Regions from separate parts of the Homo sapiens genome. Here all the other regions are linked to region 3. The links are contacts of gene promoters, found by promoter capture Hi-C in blood cells and fetal thymus (Javierre and others, 2016). All regions are on one chromosome and are shown on one strand. Each heading gives the region's core, a stretch centred on a gene start or on the middle of the fragment in contact. The rest is flanking DNA. Distances are from core to core; before and after follow the strand shown.

Region 1 (2,700 bases), core at 97-2,596, 940 kb after region 3:
CAGTGGAAGAGCAACTAATCAAACTGTAATTTATACAGTAATTTTTTTTGTAAGCAAGACTTGGGGGCCCACATTGGTGGTTTGTAAGCAAGCCTTGGGAGCCCACATTGGTGGTGCCATATACAGCAGCATGAGAAACCAGGACTGGAGAATGAGGTGGCTAATACTGGAAAGCTTAAAGAGAGAGAATGATACTCAAATCCCTAGTTCTTGGCTGAAAGCAAAACCCAGAACCAGGAGGATTTTGTATCCCTGTGCTAAAAAAGAATGTCTTATTTTTTGTAGCAGCAGTACAAAACTACCCAGAATCAATCCTCTACTCCAGTGGGGACTAATTTAGAACATCAACTGAATCACAGACTCATCAAGGGCCTTATATGAAAGTTAGGGCATCAATAAGGAAAGAGCAGACCCTGAGAACTGCAATGGTGTTCAGTGGGAGGGTGTCAAGGCCTCAAACACCAAATCTCCAAACTCCACTGAACCTAGGTTTTCAGCTCAAGCCATTCTTCCTCCCACGTCTGAGGCAGCTCATGACTTACCTGAAGACTCCGTAACTCTCTTTCCTTGTAAGAATTACCTTGCACAAGGAAGACTAACCTTCACAGGCCCTGAATCCCCTAATGAAGGGGAAGTCAGGCAGGGCCTTAAAGAAGTGTCCTGAAATTACTTCACAAAAATATTGGGGAATCTTCCTCCTATCCTTTGACTTGTAAATATTTATCAAGGAAACAGCGTATTGGGCAAAGGGAAATGCCTACCCATTTCAGATATTATTGAACATTGAATCTGAGTAAATAACACTGCCACTCACTAATTAGGGTGGAGACTTACAAGATTCAGGTGATCAATAGCATTTAGGTCCCAGTCCCAGTCTAATTTAAAGTGGACAGACTAACACTCTGAACTCAGCCCATGATAGTTTATCTATCTGTTTCCTAAGGATTTACTTTGAATAGGTAAATCTAGCCACTGCTAGAATCCCCACATTGTCTCTGAACCACAGGTAAAATAAGTCCAATGGAAGCCCCTAGGATTACCCATTGCACTCAAAATGAAAAATAAAAAGCAATACCATATCTGAGAAAATTATAGCAATTAGTGTCACCATGAAAATCTTAAGAAATGCAGGGAAGGTGATTCCTAGTACATCCCCACCTAACTTTCCAGTTTGTCCAGTGCAGAGGATGGGGGCTTCTTGGAGAATGATGGTGGATTGACATGTGCTTCATGAGGGGGTGATTCCAATTGCAGCTGCATTTATGGATGTGGCCTACTAATGAGGAAACATAACCCAGTCCCTGGTGTCTGGCATTTATTCATTCTTCAGTGAATTGAGCACCTACTATGTTCCAGGTAATGTTCTAGGTACTGGGTATAGTGAAGTGAGCAAAACAAACAAAAATGTCCATCCTTGCAGAGTCAAATATCTTTGTCTCTTATCTGATAAACACCAGAAGCATTTTGCTTTTACCTAGCAGGGATAGCAGAACACCTTACCAACTTGTCACAGGGCTTTTCTAGTTCTGTTCCACAATTTGCTATGCAGGAACCTTGACTTTCTCGCCACCACACAGGACATTCCTGAATACTGTATCATATTAAGAAGACATGAAGAGCAGGGACCAGATTGGCTGGGTTCAAATCCTATCTCTACTGCTTTCTAGCTGTGTGATTTTGAACAGGTTACTTAACCTCTCTGTGCCTCTATTCTCCTATCTGTAAAAGGTAAAATCCCACGGTATTTTGGGGAGGGCTAAAGTTGTTAATATATGTAAAGTGCTTTAGTACCTAAAGAAATAAATTTTCCACAAGAATGATTTTCATTTAGTGAGAAGCCAAGACTTTCACATTACCATGCTGGCCTCCACACACATTCCCTTGAGAAAAAAAGGTGAGAAAAAAACTCATTAAAAAAAAAAGGTGAGGAGTAAGTATCATCTTACTATTAAGGGTCAGTTGAGTTGCTGCTACTCGATACAAGCAGGGATGAGTATGAATGAAATTGGGTGAGTCTTACAGTTCCTCCTATTATTATCTTGTCCAGTAATAAAAATTAATGAAATACTAATACAGGACAATCCAGGCAGGCCCACCAAGAGTTCAATTTCCTTAGAAATGAAGATTTGAGTGACTCTACTAAGTAAAACACACTGAGAATCTGAGGTACAGGCTGCAGGCAAAGGAGATCTGGAATAGGGAGAGGTGGGAGTTATAAATACCAGCTGTTGCCTTGTGGTAGAAGTATAAATGGTGACAGTAGACGCTACACATTTCCTTGATTACTGTGACATGAAAATATGGAAAGAAAAGTACATGTGGATATCAAGTAGCCAAAGAATACATTGTAATTGCTTTTCTAGGAAGGGTTTTCCAGGATCTGGATGCTATCCTTAAATCTGGAGAATGTCCCATGGCGTGAGCCTTAGGGAAGGCAGTTCCTCCCTCTTGCAAAAGAAAAGATCAGATTCTGGCTTTCTCTGAGCCCTGGCTGCTGCGCTAGGAGGGGGCACATAGTCTAAGCTTGGCCAATCAGGTGCTCCCACTCAGCTCTTTGAATCTTGAGTTAATGACTCAAAGAAAGTCTTAGCGGTGGTGCTGACAGGGCTTCTAGTATCCAGTGCAGCGGTGTCACCCACAGAATATGTCCAGCAGTGGCAACAGAGGCGTCCGAATCAGACTGTTCCACTAGAGGGCGCT
Region 2 (2,762 bases), core at 92-2,591, 960 kb after region 3:
TGAAGTCCAGCAAACACTGATAGAACTCCAACAGAATTCTTGATGAGTTCAAATATTTCAGAATTCCTCGAGCACCCATGGCTTTGTGCCTTTAACCAACGTTTTGTACATATGTTCCTCTTATTTATCACTGCTTTCTTAGGCATGAGTCTTAATGGCTATTGAACTATTGTGGAAAAGGGGTAAAATTTCAACATAGGTAGATATATGTTTGCTTTCTTGGAGCCAAACATTACCTCTGATTTTATTACCCAGATATAATATATAATCTTTGTGCTGAAAAGTGAAAATGAAACACAAAAGTGAAGGCTGTGTGACTGAAATAAGACTTATGCATTCGGATATAATGTATAAAGTAGAAGACAGTATCTAGCATAAATCCTCTAATATCTCTCCTATAGTGTGCAAGAATCTGGGAAGCAGAAGTATGGTAATTCAGGCTCATGGTTTTCCTATCTGGAAAACAAGGATAAAATTGTGGGTCTCAAAGGGAAGTTGTAAAAATAAAAATACATTTGAATCAGAAGTATTTACTGGGCATCCAGCCTGTATTCCACCATGCTGGGCCAAGAGGAGAAGCAGGAGAGCAAGAAAGTCCCTGTGTCCAATCTCACAGGTGGCAGCCTCTGTCCTCTCACCATAAGCAGGACTGAGCACTCTCCTCAGACATCATAAAGGATCCATTTGTGCTAAAGAATCAGTGAAAATCCACTGATCGTCTCCTGAGGAGATGAATAAGAAATCTGCACTGCACAGCACATAGCACATCTCATAAAATTTCCTATAAATACCTCTCCCCAAGTCTTTTCTCTGAGCCATGCAACTCCTGGGCTCATCTTTTTCCTCCAGCTCAGATATCACCATCTACCCTACTTATGTGGAAAATTTTCCCCATGTCCTGGCTTCTTTCTTCAGTCTTGTATAGCCCCACCCAATGGTGAGATCATAAGTTTCTTACAGTGAGGGATCATGTTTGTACTTAACTTGCACAATGAAAAGTACCTTTATAAAAAATCTTCAATTCACTCTATGATAGCAGTCGGCAGGCGGGCAGGTGCCGAGAGCTGGAGGCACCCCAAATGCTTTATCCTCAGTAAAATGGCCCCTCCATACCTAAGGAATCCTGCCTGTTGGGTGGCAGTAACAAGACTAAAGAAAGAAACCAGGACAGGGCTGAAATCTTCCCAGGGGAGGAATGAAAGAAGGGGAGAAGCCGCCTGAAGGGATAAGTGGTGTCGGGGCTGGAGCTGGGAAATTGAATGGCTGAGAGGAGAGACTTGGGAAGAGACATTTATAGAGATTTTTTTGAGTGTGTTGTACAAGGCACTCAAGGCCCTGGCACAGAGTACAGATTTTACATGCAAGCAGCAGTAGAAGTGAGACAATTGCCCAGAATGTGAATGGGCAATGGGAAGGAGTTCAAAATAAGGTGTTAATTTTTTTATTTATTTCTTTTTTTTTTTTTTTTTTTTTTGAGATGGAGTTTCATTCTTGTTGCCCAGACTGGAGTGCAATGGCGCGATCTCGGCTCACTGCAACCTCCACCTCCCGGGTTCAAGTGATTCTCCTGCCTCGGCCTCCTGAGTAGCTGGGATTACAGGCATGTGCCACCACCCCAGCTAATTTTGTATTTTTAGTAGAGACGGAGTTTCTCCGTGTTGGTCAGGCTGGTCTTGAACTCCCGACCTCAGATGATCTGCCTACCTCGGCCTCCCAAAGTGCTGGGATTATAGGCGTGAGCCACCGTGCCCGGCCAATTTTTTTATTTCTTAACGTGACTGGATGACAGTTCATAAACATCTCCCACCCTGGAATGACTCTCACCTCCCTCCAAATATCCTGTGCGTCCTTCAAGATTCAGATCAATTTCCAACCATCCCCTCCCTGAAGTCTCCTCAAACCCTCTGACCACAGTGGCACTTCCCCTGTCTCAATTTAGAGGTATAATTTGTAATGTTGAACTGCCGTTTTGGGGTTTCTTCCTCTCCTGCCATCCATCCAATACACAGTTGTGGGTCACTTCAACGATGGGAATACAATCCGAGAAATGCTTCTTTAGGTGATTTTTGTAATTGTGCAAACATCATAGAGTGTACTTATACAAACCTACACACCTAGGCTATGTGGTATGGCCTATTGCTTTAGACTACAAACCTGCACAGGATGTGACTACTGAATGCTATAGGCAGTTGTAACACAATGTTAAGTATCTTTTTTTTGCATTTAAACATAGAAAAAGTGCCAGGTGCGGTGGCTCATGCCTGTAATTCCAGCACTTCAGGAGGCTGAGGTGGGTGGATCGCTTGAACTCAGGAGTTCAAGACCAGCCTGGGCAACATGACGAAACCCTGTCTCTACAAAAAATACAAAAATTAGCCAGACATGGTGGTGCACATCTGTGGTCCCAGCTACTTGGGAAGCTGAGGCAGGAAAATTGCTTGAGCCCCAGAGGCAGAGGGTGCAATGAGCTGAGATCGCGCCATTGCACTCCAGCCTGGGTGACAGAGTGAGACTCTGTCTCTATATTTAGAGTAAATAAATAAATGTAGAAAAAGTACAGTAAAAATGCGGTATTATGATCGTACAGGACCACTGTTGCAAATGTGGTTTATCCTTGACCAAAACGTTATGTGGGGCGTGACTGTATTATTATAGAAGCAATCCTTAACCACAGTTTTTATCACGTCATACCTCCACTAAAAAAAAAGAAAAAAGAAAAAAGAAAAAATTGACTGGCTCTTCTCTGCCAACAGGATTTTTAA
Region 3 (2,709 bases), core at 19-2,518:
TGGTAGCACCCATGAGGTAGTTGCTACCAATGAGGCTGACAGATGGGGGCAGGTTTGTGTGGCGCCTTAGAGAAAATGGAGAAAAACAAAGAGGTCCCTAACTCTTACCAGAACATGCTGAAGATCTTGGCATTAAAAGAGATCTTCGAGGGTCATTGAATTCAAAGACCCATCTATTCCTGAAGTTCAGGGCCAACATTTTGGGCAAGAAATCTTTCAGCTTACTCATGAAGTCTCCTAGAGCATAGGCAAGTCATGGACCAGCTGTTCTTGGCAATGTATCTCATATTTCAGGACTTACCTATAGCCAGAGTTTGTTATTCGAAAGTCTTTTCCTCTTTGGGAGGTCTAGGTTCTAATGGACTATCCCAGAAGGAATATAATCTATCCCTATTCCACTTCAAGTGTTTGCAGACAGTACCCCCAATCCCTTAAATCTTTTCTTCAAGTGAAATATACCCAATTCCTTCAAAGATTCCTACTGAAACGAAGAGAGGTGCTTTGGCAAAAAGCAGACTCTGGAACCAGACAGCCTAGGTTTGCATCTCAGCTTCACCACATATCAGCTGTGTGACCTGAGGTTTTCTGTGGCTCAGTTTTATCTGTAAAATGGAATGATAAGACCGCCTACCTCAAAGGGGTGCAGTTAGTGCTATGAGAATGTTAGCTGCTGTTATTCAGAAGGGCTCTACTCCACAATACCCTCCACTTAGTCAAGGCCTACCCTAAAATGTATCCTCCCTGAATAGTAATCGATAAATATTTATTGGGTGATAGGTTGCAAGGCGCAGAAACGAGCTTAATACTCAAAGCAGTACAGGCCGGTCATCACCTACATCGAAGCAACCAGAAAGTATCTTTATCCCCATCTAGATTATGTCTGGGTCCTTCCAGACTCCTACGATTAAATTGTATGCATGTGAACAACTGATGAGGTACTTAGATCTCAGTGCTTTGCAGAAAGAAAAGCCGTCTACCATTTTCACCAAATTTCGTAGTACAATTTAAGTATCTCTTGTTATCTCCCCTAGGAGTCTAAAGTGAGCTGGGGAAGGCAGGATTTTGCAAACTGACCGCCAGCATTCCCTCACCTAGTGGACCCCTGCAGGAGCCCCAGGTACTCACGCTGCGGTAGCGGCACCTGGAGCCTTAGCGGCGGGGGTGACGCGAAGAGCCGCCGGGAGCGAGTGCAGGGAGGGCAGGTTAAGAGAGTGTGGGTCCAGTAGCCTCACCGTGACTCAGCGCTTCGCGGCCGGCGGCCTAGAGGAGGCGGGAGGCGGGAGTCTACGGGTCTCGGAGGCCCTGGGGCTCCGCCCTCGGGAATGTCACTCCACTCTCGCTCCGCCCTACGCCTCTCCCAGGCCAGCTTGGCGGCCCTTTGGCCTCCCTGCCTCTCGTGCCGGGAAGAGATGCTCACTCGGGTAATTTAGGCGGCACTTGCTGTGCTCCAGGAGGAAATGTGTGGCCCGGGCAGGTGCTCTGATCGGCGCTCCGGTCGGTCTTGTGGGAAATCTGTTTTTAACTGTAGTCTCCCTGTCACCCAGCCGGCGGAGCTTGGCGGCACGGATTCCAGTGCTGCCTCCACCGCTGGGAGGCACCACTTGACATGACCTGGGACAGGTGGCTCAGTCTCTCTGTGCCTCTGGTTCCTCCTCTATAAAATGAGGATGGTGATGATAATAGTGCCAGCCTTATCGGGCTGAAATGAGAATTAAATGAGCCTGTCACATTCTAAGCACTACAGAATCGTTTGTTCCATAGATAAGTTGCCTGCTGTTTGTCAGTTAGAATTGCGAGAAAAGGAGTGCGGGAGTGGGGACGGGCAGCCATACGTCTTTATTCCTGCCTGAAGAGAAGGCACACTCTAGTGGGGAGATAATTGGTTAAGAGTTTGTATGGTGTTGGAACACAGTGGGCAGGCGTTGGAGAGTTTTTCCAGAAGAATGAGGAGCTGGCACAAGCCAGTGAGGGGATCTAGTTGATTACTAGGATTATTAACTAGTGGTACAGGCATAGCTGCAGTTTCTATTCTCTAAACACCAGAAGGCTCATTGCCTGGTTTTGAGAAAGGAAAGACAGTGGTGTCTCTAAAATAAGGTTGGAAAACTTTGTCTGTGAAGGACCAGATAGTAAATACTTTGACTTTGCAGGCCATGTACATTCTCCAGTTTGCCTTTGTAGCAAGAAAGCAGCCATAGATAACATGTAAATAAATGAATGTGGCTGTAGTTCAATAAAACTTTAATTATGAATACTGAAATATAAATTCATAAAATTCATACAATTTTGAGTTCATATAATTTTTACTTGTCATGAAATATTATCCTTCTTTTGATCTTAAATGTAAAACCACTTAAAATGTAAAAACCATTCTTAGCCCTCTGGCTATACAAAAATAGGTAGTGGGCTACCTACTCATTTTGGCTGCAGGCCTAGTATGCAGATCCCTGCTCTAAAAGAACAGGTTAGTAGAGGAACGAACACTTTTCTCTGGGCTTTTAAAATATCAGTGGGGCTTAAACCCGTCCTCATCACCTTACTTAGGCAGTTCAAGGCTAGCTGAGATAATACACATGAACATTAAAGGTGCTATGGAATAACAAAGTATTGTTTCTTATCGTCATTGTAACTAGTTCTGCAACTGTCTCCTCTACCTCTGCAGCTGTAATAGGTGTACTAGGAGTGAACGTTTCTCCTCTTTGTCTCTCA

The links. Contacts are between HindIII fragments. The CHiCAGO score rates a contact against its expected background, and 5 or more counts as called.
Region 1: a contact is called between a fragment that was not itself captured here and the fragment with the promoter of PIR in region 3, in 3 of 17 cell types (total B cells, naive CD8 T cells and total CD8 T cells). The highest score is 7.1, in total B cells.
Region 2: a fragment that was not itself captured here is called in contact with the fragment with the promoter of PIR in region 3 in 2 of 17 cell types (total B cells and naive B cells); the score reaches 10.0 in total B cells.

The regions. Positions count from the first base shown.
Region 1 is chrX:16,434,097-16,436,796 of GRCh38, forward strand. No RefSeq gene overlaps it. Among named protein-coding and RNA genes, the nearest start is that of MIR548AM, 190 kb to the right of the region's middle. The HindIII fragment of the contact is 2,349 bases long and covers 173-2,521 here.
Region 2 is chrX:16,450,619-16,453,380 of GRCh38, forward strand. All of the region lies in intron 1 of LOC124905249 (a long non-coding RNA gene), which reads right to left. Among named protein-coding and RNA genes, the nearest start is that of MIR548AM, 180 kb to the right of the region's middle. The HindIII fragment of the contact is 8,932 bases long and covers 1-2,762 here.
Region 3 is chrX:15,492,065-15,494,773 of GRCh38, forward strand. It overlaps PIR (pirin), which reads right to left and starts at 1,269. Exons shown (of 10, transcript NM_001018109.3): 1 at 1,126-1,269. RefSeq lists enhancers at 679-1,181, 1,182-1,685. The HindIII fragment of the contact is 4,696 bases long and covers 1-2,709 here.